4 separate regions of the Homo sapiens genome follow, and regions 1, 3 and 4 are each linked to region 2. Evidence: promoter capture Hi-C in human tissues and cell types (Jung and others, 2019). All regions are on one chromosome and are shown on one strand. The core of a region is centred on a gene start or on the middle of the fragment in contact, and the rest is flanking DNA. Distances in the headings are between cores, read along the strand shown. Region 1 overlaps SLIT2 (slit guidance ligand 2). Region 2 holds the start of SLIT2 (slit guidance ligand 2). Region 3 overlaps SLIT2 (slit guidance ligand 2). Region 4 overlaps LOC105374513 (a long non-coding RNA gene).

Region 1 (2,843 bases), core at 192-2,691, 160 kb before region 2:
AGGAAGCCAGTGCTTCAAAACATCAGGCTTTTTCACAAAAAGAATAAAATACCTAGGACTACAGTTAACAAGGGAAGTGAAGGACTTCTTCAAAGAGAACTACAAACCACTGCTCAAAGAAATCAGAGATGAAACAAACAAACAAATAAACATTCCATGCTCATGGATAGGAAGAATCAATATCATGAAAATGGCCATACTGCCAAAAGCAATTTATAAATTTAATGCTATTCCTATTAAACTACCATTGACATTCTTTACAGAATTAGAAAAAAATACTTTAAAATTCATATGGAACCAAAAAAAGAGCCCTATAGTCACAACAATCCTAAGCAAAATGAATAAAGCTGGAGGCATCACACTACCCAGCTTCAAATTATACAAGGCTATAGTAACCAAAACAGCATGATACTGGTATAAGAACAGACTCCAAGACCAAGGGAACAGAATACAGAACCCAGAAATAAGACTGCACACCTACAACCATCTGATCTTTAACAAACCTGAGAAAAACAAGCAGTGGGGAAAGAATTCCCTATTTAATAAATGGTACTGGGAGAGCAGGCTAGCCACATGTAGAAAATTGAAACTGGACCCCTTCCTTACACCACATACAAAAATAAACTCAAGATGGATTAAAGACTTAAATGTGAGCCAGGTGCAGTGGCTCACACCTGTAATCCCAGCACTTTGAGAGGCCGAGGTGGGCGGATCACCTAGTCAGGAGTTCGAGACCAGCCTGGCCAACATGGTGAAACCCCATCTCTACTAACAATACAAAAAAAAAAAATTAGCTGGGCATGGTGGCAGGCACCTGTAATCCCAGCTACTTGGGAGGCTGAGGCAGTAGAATCGCTTGAACCTGGGAGGCGGAGGTTGCAGTGAACCAAGATTGCGCCACTGCACTCCAGCCTGGGTGACAGAGCAAGACTCTGTCTCAAAAAAAAAAAAAAAAAAAAAAAGAAAAGAAAGAAAAGAAAAAAAACCAAGACTTAAATGTGAAACGCAAAACTATAAAAACCCTAATAGAAAATCTAGGCAATACCATTTGGGACATAGGCACAGGCAAAGATTTCATGACGAAGATGCCAAAAGCAATTGCAACAAAAGCAAAACTTGACAAATGGGATCTAATTCAACTAAAGAGCTTCTGCACAGCAAAATAAACTATCAACAGAGTGAACAGACAACCTACTCAATGGGAGAAATCTTTTGCAATCCATTTATCTGACAAAGGTCTAATACCCAGCATCTACAAATAACTTAAAAAAACTTACAAGAGTAAAACAACCCCATTAAAAAGTGGTCAAAGGACATGAATAGACACTTCTCAAAAGAAGACATACATGCGGCCAGCAAACATATGAAAAAAAATCCAACGTCACTGATCATTAGAGAAATGCAAATTAGAACCACAATGAGATATCATCTCACACCAGTAAGAATAGCTATTATTAAAAAGTTAAAAAACACAGGTGCTGGCGAGGTTGTGGAGAAAAAGGAATGGTTTTACATTGTTGATGGGAATGTAAATTAGTTCAACCATTGTGGAACACAGTGTGGTAATTCCTCAAAAACCTAGAGGCAGAAATACCATTTGACCCAGAAATCCCATGACTGGGTATATAGTCAAAGGAATATAAATCATTCTATTATAAAGATACATGCACATGTATATTCACTGAAGCCCTATTCACACTAACAAAGACATGGAATCGACCTAAATGCCCATCAATGATAAACTGGATAAAGAAAATGTGGTACATATACACCATGGAATACTATGCAGTCATAAAAGGGAATGAGATCATGTCCTTTTAGGGACATGGATGGAGCCAGAAGCCATTATCCTCAGCAAACTAACACAGGAACAGAAAACTAAATAGTGCATGTTCTCATTTATAAGTGGGAGCTGAATGAGGAGAACACATGGACACATGGTGGGGAACAACACACACAGGGGCCTGTTGTAGGGCGAGAAGTGAGAGGAAGGAGAGCATCAGGAAGACTAGCTAATGGATACTGGGCTTAATATCTAGATGATGGGATGATCTCTGCAGCAAACCACCATGGCATTTATGTAACCAACCTGCACATCCTGCACATGGTACCCCAAACTTAAAACAAAAGTTGGAAATTAAAAGGAAAAACATGGCAGCTTTCGTGAGCTGCAGTCTCTGATGGGCTTTAGCAGATCTGTGGTACTACAGAAATTACATGCAAATGCATATGAGCACAAGTGCATATGGGAGGTGGGGGTGGGAGAAGCAGCCCCAGGAGCTGTTAATTTAGAAGTAGATGGTATTCTTTCTTTCCATTTACATATTGTCTAGGACAAAGTGTCTGTATAAGAAAACTGTCACTTAAGTAATTATAGAGCAACACCATGAGCCACAGCGATGCAAACTCTGTTCTGTTCCAAGCTTTTCTTGGTTCCTCCAAGCAGCTGAGTCATTCTGTCCCCTAGGCTTCTCAGACTGCAGCTCACTCATCATTTACTCAAGGACTATTAGAGCGATAGAAGCTGGGTTTCCACAATGAGTGAGATAGAAATGGCCTTGATCCCAAAGTAACTTATAATCCAGTAGCGCTAGAAGGAGGTAAAAAAATAAACTAAAAATAAGCACATAATCACAAAAAACGAAGGTTCTTTGAGCACAGCAGAGTCAGCAAACTGAAATTTCGTCCTGCAGGGGAAAGGGGATCAGGGATGGCTTTGGGCTGAGATCTGGGCATAGTAGAGGCAAGGAACTCTCAAGCTTTCACCTAGAACAAAAAATCAAAATGTGCAAAATCCTAGGGTTCAAACAGACAAATTAATGGAAGGTCAAGGTCTGAGAAGG
Region 2 (2,922 bases), core at 18-2,517:
CCTCGCCCTCGACTCCGCCGCAGCCTGGACCGGTCCTCGCGGTCTCCCGACAGCCAACGATGGTTTACAAACACACATGCACTTCGCTGAAGGATGTCTGGGCAATCCCGCCTCCCGCTCGGCGTCCTTGGCGACGCTCTGCACCAGGACCTGCCCCGAGGTCACGCAGAAAAGACAAAAGGGCAGTCGGGCCGCCGCAGCCGGGCAGAAATATCCACTAGTCAGCACTCCGGCGAGGAACTCCAAGAGGCCAAGTGGAGGATGAGAGCTGCTGCGAAGACTGAGTGGGGACTGACTGGGGGCGGACTTAAAAACCAGGCAGACCGGAAGGAGTGGAAAGGCAAAGGCCAAGGTTGGAGGTGTCAGCGTCCTGCTGGGGCGTACTGGAGAATGGCTCGGTGGCAGGTGGGCGGGTGGGATCCACTACTCCAGGCAGAGCCAGGCGGCAGCTGAATGGCAGTAGTGTGTGCGCGCGTGTCAACCCCGCTCGTCTCCCAGATAAGCCGCAGCTCCGCGGCAGACACCTGATGGCAAAGGTAGAAGAAACAAGAGCCGGGTTCCGGAGGGCGCAGAGCCACGGCCGGCCCCCGGCGGTCTCCCACTAGTGGTTCGTCCTTCTCAAAGTGCAGCAACTTTTCCCAGGCTTTGAATTCCGTCCCCCAAGGCCACAGTGGCGGTACCCCTGCCGGCGTGGCGACGCCGCCCGGCTCCTGGCGCTGCACCTGACGCGGCGGCCGCAGTCCCGGGTAGTCCTTCTCCTTCTAGCCCCTTCCCCTCTCCCGCTGCTTTCCTGGCCTCCCGCTCCAGGGAGCGAGGTCGGGGAGAGGGAGGGCGACGACTCAGAGCGGGGACTCGGTGGCTCTGCCGACTCCGGAGCCCCTGGCAAGTGTCTAAACAATAGGACGGACGCAGCAGCCCAAGTCTCGCTTGTCTGGAAGGAAGGTGGGTTGTTGTCGTAACTGGAGTTGTTCGCTGGGGCTGACTGGCGCTCAGCGTAGCCAAACAAAAACCCGGCCCGCGCCTCCGGAGCCGGCTGCGGGCCCCCGGCGCTCCCCTTTCTGCTCAGCACTCCCGCCGTGCCCAGAAAGCGCGGCAGCTTCGGCCTGCGCCTGGGCGCTTCGGCGCTCCCATGCCTCGCAGCTGCCTCCGCCTCCGCCGCCGCCGCCGCCGCCGCCTTCTTTTTTTTAACCACAGTCTGCGGCAGCCACCACCACCGCCGCCGCCAAGCTCCGCCGTCCGGGCGCTTCCCAAATAAATAACACCAAGTCCGAAGTTGAGCCGGCGCGGGCCTTATATAGCCGCCCGAGCCTCCGCCCCCTGACCCCGCCCCTCGAGGCCCAGGCCCGCCCCCTGGCTCCGCTCTGGGAGCCCGCACCTCGCTGGGGAGAGGGGAGAGGTGAGGCCGGGGCTGCCAGCGCTGGGCGGAGGCGGCGGCTGGCGGCGCGCGTTCCCGTGCGCCCTGGCTCGCCCCCTCGCTCCCACGCGCGGGCAAACTTGGCCCGAAGAAGGAGCCACCCGAGCCCCAGCCCCCAACTCCTTGGCCCCAGAGGTGACCTGGGCTCGGAGATAGTCGTTTGCAGTGGGAGAATGGGAAGAGGTCGGCTTTGAACGCGGCTCATAAATAAACAGCCCTGCCAGTGCCTCTCCTGCAGCTTTTGCCACGCGATCCTTAAGGGGGCTGCTCACTCTTTGCAGCGCAGCAAGAGACAGAGAGACAGAAACAGAGAAATTATGATTTAAATTTAAGAAAAATCCTACCGAAATAGATCTGCCTGCGCTTACAGACACACACGTGTATTTTGGGGAGCTGAAAAGTTCAGTTTTTGCAAGTTGGAAAACAGCATTTTCCAACCTTCTTGCTTGCCTTTCTATCTCCAAGCCACCCCCTTCCGTTTAACCCTTCCTTTGTAGACACACACTGAACCACACCGTGGTCAGTTGATGTCTTGGATATTCAATAGGCTCACAAAACTCTTAAGGGCTTGAACGTATCTGTGTGATTTTTTACTCTCTTATGAGAGAAAGGAGGGGAAAAAATAAATCCCTAGCAACGCACATTATACCAGAAGGTTTTCTTTATTTCAGGGCAGTTCTGGATATTTTTTTCCCCGCTATGTTTTGAAAGAGAATTTCCTTGTTTCATCTTGTCTCTTTAGTGTGACGTATGTCTGGCAACGGCTGCCTCTCTCGCCCCCCTTTCCCCCCCAGCAAGAGCCAATGTCACTGTAAGTTTGAAATGACATCTAAATGACTCTGCTCCTTCTCTTGGATTTAATATGCATCATATTGTTGTTCTTCCTCCCATTTCCACGTTAAGAAGCTTTCCCTGGAATTTGTGCAAGCCCCCGCCTAATACCAGCCTCATATTGTAGTAGTTATTTGTATAATTATTAGAAGCTTCCTTGAAAGCAAGACCTGTCCAACTCTTTGTATTTCCAGCATCTATGCCTGCCACATAATAGGTTTCCTCATAAGTAACCGATTTCTTTAACTCAAGAGTATGCTCAACCTAAAATCTCTGCAATATCCTCATTAACGTTTTTCCTGGTTAACATTTTCTAAGATGTCCTTTCATAATGGCTACCCCTACTTACCTCATTTTGCCTGCCTTGGAAAACGTAAGCCTTTTCGAGGACACGCCCAAAGGCAGGGTACCATCTGATAACTGAATTGGAACTCTTAGGATTACTCATTTTAATGCCACAGATTTATATTGCTCTATTCTTTTAAAACCTTCAAAAACATTTGACATTTATTAACTCATTTGTCCTTCTAGATTTTAGCTTAAAGGTCTGTTATGTAACTTCCTTGAGGAGGAGAAAAAAGAAGCCCTTGTCACATTTTCTTGTAAGGAAAATGAGATAAAGAACAAGTACCTGTCATTGAGGAAGGAGCTCCCCCAACCCTCAGTGAATTTTCCTT
Region 3 (2,849 bases), core at 296-2,795, 170 kb before region 2:
GAGCGGGTATGACAGAAAAGGCACCAGGGGACTCATGTGGCATGATGGCAGGGCTCCATCTCGCCCTGAGTGGCAGGCATGCGGGCATTTCTTTTACTCTGTATATTTATGTTTGATATTCTGTGTACATGTGTGTGTGCTCTGCAAAATAGTAATTACTTCTGATCATGGTTACATTTACAATATGGACTTTAAAAACACATACTAAAATTTGAATCCAAGAGCTGTAAGTACGGAGATCAAACACATGACATTAAGAGTCAAACATGGGTTTAAATCTACTTCTTTTACTCCCTGTGAGACTTAGTCCTCAGTTTTCTCTTTGCTGTGAACAATTATGAACGTGCTGACTTTGCATTGTGGTAGTGTGGATGAGATGAGTGAGAAGTAATTAGCACAGTATGGATCACAGGGTAGGAACTCAAAATGGGTTTTCTTCTCTTCTCAGTCCTTCAGGTTTGTAATTTAGGTCAGAAGACTTAGAAATGAAGAGAGGCATGGTAAAAAGCATAGAGAACAACTGATTAAGACACATGAATTTCAATAACATTCTATATGTAGTTGGGGGAAAAAGACCTGAAGAGAAAAAGCAATAATCTATTCATAGTATCTAATCATTACTGGGAAGTTTTTAGAAGACTATTGACAGTAGTGATTATCAGCCATTGTTAGAAAGGTTTCAAAAAAAAAAAAAAAAAGAATGCAAATTCATAGCTTTCCCTGGATGGCTTCACTTCACTTGTTCAAAGACACCAGCAATGTTGGAAAAAATGAGAGCTCCTACAAGAACACTGGCCTGCAGCCGTTATTAATTAACTTTGGACACAAAATACCATACTCATAAGCACATCATATAGATAGGTTTTTAAAATGCAGCCATATGCTTTCAACTTTTAGAATCCATAATGACAAACTTTTGACCAAATATCTTTGATTCTGTGGATGTACAGACTTATTGTGTAAGAATATAATTTTTCCTATGACCTTTGAAAATGAAAAAAATGGGTTCTAACAGGCTACAGGACATGTATATGTACATTAACAGAAACACATACTCTTAATGTTTTATATAAAAATACCAACATTGATATCCTTTTCCTGAAGGAGCACCATCTAAGGAAGTAGCATGGTTTCACAGAACCTGTGATGTTATTAAAACTAAAAGCTATTGGTTCAGGCCGGATCACAACCATTTACAGGCTGTGGATTCTCAGGGAAAATCTCTGTTTTCTTTAAGCCTGTCTTTGCCTTTCAATTGAGGATTGAAGTCTGCTTATCTTGCAGATTTTCTAAGGATCAAATGAGATAAACATACTTCTTAAGCTCAGGACAGCTATACCATAAATGTTACATAGTGTTTGGTTAAAGCTTAGACTATAGAGGGCAGGTAAGATTCAGATCCTGGAGTGCCTCTACCTGGACTCTACTCCTAACTCTTAAATTTACCAGTTCTGAGACCCTGGGCAATTTACCTGCCTCTCTGTAACTGTTATTTCTCTGGGAAAAACAATGAAATCTTCCCCAGACAGTTGTTTTGGGGTTTAAATGAAAGAATATAAGCCCAGCCCATATGCACTACTTATCATTGTATTTTTTTATCATCATTATCAAATAACAGGTAATCTTTTTATTATGCATCTGTAGCTTTTCAGCCAAGTATCATTTCCTGCTCTGTAGATCCCAGCTCTCATTTCTTAAGTTACGGTTTAAGGTTCTCCTTCTTTTTCTGTCCCTCTTCAATCAATTTCCAAAACCTAAAGCTACTCTAAATATGTGTTCCTTACAATTTTAGTTATCATCAGCATGCAAATGGCCGTACCTGTCAACCTCTAGATCCTTTCTCATTAATAGCATCTTACACAGTGCATCTTTTCAGGTCATCTGTGATTGGATAACACACTGCTAAATCTAGTGAAATATGACTATTTTGCAAAACTGTTTTTCCCCTACCACCTTTTCTTATACAAAACTCCCTATTTTCTAAAGAATCTGATTCCCCAGCCTCTCCACTCATTCTTTTACTAGCTTTGAATTTGTTTTTGTATACATCATTTATAAATCTTCCCCTTCTATGCTGCCTCCTACACAGTGAAAGTTGTACTCAACTCTGTGCTCATCTGCCAGCAGTCCTGGTGATATCCTTTCCTTCCCTACTGCCTCCGCATTCCAGGTTTGGAGCTGCTTCATTCAAGCATGTGTTGGTTAAGCCAAAGTCAGCTGCCATGTGTTAGGTACCACACTACACACTGAGGATGCAATGGTGAAGAAGGAGCAACCCTGTTCTCAAGAAGCTCACAGTCTATAAGGGAGCACTGAGCAAAACACTCATTCACACATTAGTCTAATAGGAAAAAAATCACAGGTTTACAGAGAAGCTCCTAAGGTGACAGCAAATCCCAAACTGAATTGTCAGGGATAGCACAGAAGAGTCTTGAAAAACTCATGGTCATACAAAGGATTGGCATAGGAGGGAGAGGCAGGCAGAGAAAGGGACATATGAAAAAGCATGGAATCTGCAGCAGCTGGAAATAATGCTACACTTGAGTTTTCTCCATTTACTACTTTAAGTTTTCAGCAAAAGTACCACTTTCTCATGTAAAGTGTTCATATAAAATCTGTTAACTTTTTGGATATTTGAAAGACTAAAGCATTTCCTAGGGGCTTAAAGTTGAACTCACTAAAAGGAATTTCTATGTATTAAGAGTGGCTTTTCCCTTTACAAACGGATTTATGGACAGGAAGATTTGGAAAATAATATTTTTAGAAAGTAATTTCCAGCAAGTTAAAATTGTATCTAATCAATATGACATTTCTTTAAACGGGATCCTTGTTCTCTACAGTAGATATAC
Region 4 (2,700 bases), core at 1-2,500, 240 kb after region 2:
CAAATGAGATAAGAGAAGTTGTAACTGGATTTCCAACTGTCGATTTTATCATGTATAAAAGAACGTAGTTACCTAAATCAGTGAGAGAAATAGTAAGGATGGATACATGAAATATGACATTAGATCTATGTTTTTCAAAGTAGGGTTCCATATCAGCAACTTCAGCATCACCTTGGAACTTAGTAAAAATGCACATTTCTGGGCATCTACCCAGACCTATGGAAGCAGAAAACTCTGAGTATGGAGCCTCGTAATCTGTGTTTCAACAAGTCCCACAGGCGATTTTGATGCACATTGAAGTTTGAAGGTACCTTTATTAGATTTTCTTTCTTGTGAGTGCCACTCCACAGAGGAGTTGTCTTGTCTCTTCAAATTTCATTCGTTTATTTATTCATTATTCTTAAAGTAATTTAAGGAAACACTCCCTCCCCTAGAGCAGAGGCTTGAGAAACCAGAGTGGGTAATATCTGATAATTGCTACATGTGATTTTCTGAGATAAACTAAAATATTTTAGGCTGTTTTCACTACTTAGTAGTCTCAATCTTTCACTAGATGCATGACAATAGCAAAAATAAATACAATTATTTTTGGAGCATTTATCTGTAATATTTGGTGAATAATTTCTCTAAAACAAGACCCATATACCATAATTGTTTCTAAAATATCCCTTTACCAATCATTGTGTTTTTAGTAATACTATTAAGTTTTTTAGTAGTTGAGTTGAAATGCAACAAATACTTACTGCATGCTTAAGCATTGCATAAAGTGTTGTAGTGTCTCCAGATATGAGCAAGCCATAATTGCTTCCCTCAAACACATTGTGGGATGGTATAGTAACGGAGAAACACCAATTACCAACTAAAATACAAAAGAGAAGGAGATGAAATTGATGATAGGAGAATACATGGCATACAAGAAATATGTATACACACATATATATGCTTATGCATATATATGTATGTACATCTATAACTATACATACACACATGTGTGTATGTATCTGTTTATCATCTATCTACACTTAAAGATGCACATTTTTAGTTGTTTGGAAAGTTTCACTAATCAGCATGAGTCGTTCCCTGATCTGTTACAGTACATTTCATTTCCTGGGGTAACAGTGTAAGGGTACTATTTAGTGAAGAGGTCAGATGAATAACTCTTAGACTGGATGCTTACAAGGAAATGGTTAGAGTACAGGGTAGCTTAACCCTCAATTTTATCCATTTCAGTGGTTTCCACAGATGCACACAAGAGACACTGATGCTTCTCTTGAGAACAACTGACAACTGTATAGCTCAGTTGGTATTAATCACTGTGAATAGTTGTGGCCAAAGTTGAGGATTAAAGTTACACGGCAAATATAGTTCTGATATTGGGTTGTCTATATCAGTACATGTTACAGAAACCACTGCTCTGAGGATGGCAGCAACTTGATAGGGAAGATAAAACTCAAGGAAATAAAGGGGAAAAAAACCCGTTTTCCCCAAACTGAATGCATTTTATTTCCTTAAGTTCACTTCATCACAATGTATGCAGCTTATTCTTTAAAAATTACAAAGAGCTTCTTTGGGTACATTTGGAAAGAACAGCTCAAGGAATTTTGTCCTTCACATAAATCCATCCCAATATTTGCTGATTTCAACTCCCTCAAATCAATTTGTTCGTAAATAAGCTTGCTGCATTTATGATTGTTTTTGCTGTCATTCCTCCAGCACAGAAAAACTACTTGTCTCAAGACTATGCATGGTGGCTCATTCCTGTAATTCCAGCACTTCGGGAGGCCAAGGTGGGCAGATCACGAAATCAAGAGATCGAGACCATCCTGGCCAACATGGTGAAACTCCATTTCTACTAAAAATACAAAATTTAACTGGGCATGGTGGTGCGCACCTATAGTCCTAGCTACTTGGGAAACTGAGGCAGGATGATGGCTTGAACCTGGGAGGCAGAGGTTGCAGTGAGCCAAGATCGTTCCACTGCACTCAAGCCTGGCAACAGAGCGAGACTCTCCGCAAAAAACAAAACAAAACAAAAAAAAAACACCAAAAAACGTATCGTTATATATGCAAACCCTGGATTCAAGACAGAACTAGTACCAACAACAACCAACCAATCAAAAATGTGGAGAAAGGTGGTTGAAAGAAGGCTTTCTAATCTATCTAATTTTGGGATGTTGCTTCTTTGAAAGAAATAAAAATATATACACATACATATATACATTTGTATCAATATCAAATGATATATAATTGATAGTTTGGTGTATAAAATATGTGCCTCTCTACCACCCCTGACATGGACTCCCTGGTGGACTTCTGGTCATCTACTGGGATAATTTAGTCCCTTCTCAGTGCAGCCTTCTCTGTAAACCAAATCCCTTGGTGCTACCTTTACATATCTTTTTGAAAGGATTTACCAAGTAAAGAAACATTTGTTATTGTAGATCAGGAGTGTTTTGAAGCAGAGACTCATCTTGTTTATCATTTGACCCCCTAGATTAGGAATTGGAATACCATGGTCTGCTGTCATTTTGTCTACCCTATGAGCCAAAAATTGTTTTGAAAGTTTGAAATGGTTGAAAAACAATAAAACAAAAGAAGAATAACTTATGACACAGGAAAATTGTATAAAGTTCACTATTTGGTCTTCATTAATAATCTTTTATTGGTACACATCCATGCTCTTTTGTTTACATATCATCT

Evidence for each region. The method cuts DNA at HindIII sites, captures the fragments that hold promoters and counts their contacts. A contact is called where the count stands out against the background at its distance.
Region 1: a fragment that was not itself captured here is called in contact with the fragment with the promoter of SLIT2 in region 2 in 1 of the 25 tissues and cell types used here (dorsolateral prefrontal cortex).
Region 3: a fragment that was not itself captured here is called in contact with the fragment with the promoter of SLIT2 in region 2 in 1 of the 25 tissues and cell types used here (hippocampus).
Region 4: a contact is called between a fragment that was not itself captured here and the fragment with the promoter of SLIT2 in region 2, in 1 of the 25 tissues and cell types used here (mesenchymal stem cells).

Annotation. Positions count from the first base shown.
Region 1 is chr4:20,408,363-20,411,205 of GRCh38, reverse strand. The region is part of intron 4 of SLIT2 (slit guidance ligand 2); the gene reads right to left. Among named protein-coding and RNA genes, the nearest start is that of SLIT2-IT1, 18 kb to the right of the region's middle. The HindIII fragment of the contact is 3,848 bases long and covers 1-2,843 here.
Region 2 is chr4:20,250,250-20,253,171 of GRCh38, reverse strand. SLIT2 (slit guidance ligand 2) reads right to left here and starts at 1,267. Exons shown (of 37, transcript NM_004787.4): 1 at 1-1,267. RefSeq lists an enhancer at 1-151. The HindIII fragment of the contact is 10,378 bases long and covers 1-2,922 here.
Region 3 is chr4:20,425,520-20,428,368 of GRCh38, reverse strand. The region is part of intron 4 of SLIT2 (slit guidance ligand 2); the gene reads right to left. Among named protein-coding and RNA genes, the nearest start is that of SLIT2-IT1, 35 kb to the right of the region's middle. The HindIII fragment of the contact is 7,302 bases long and covers 1-2,849 here.
Region 4 is chr4:20,009,939-20,012,638 of GRCh38, reverse strand. It overlaps LOC105374513 (a long non-coding RNA gene), which reads right to left. Exons shown (of 3, transcript XR_925449.2): 2 at 744-859. Among named protein-coding and RNA genes, the nearest start is that of SLIT2, 240 kb to the left of the region's middle. The HindIII fragment of the contact is 3,709 bases long and covers 1-2,700 here.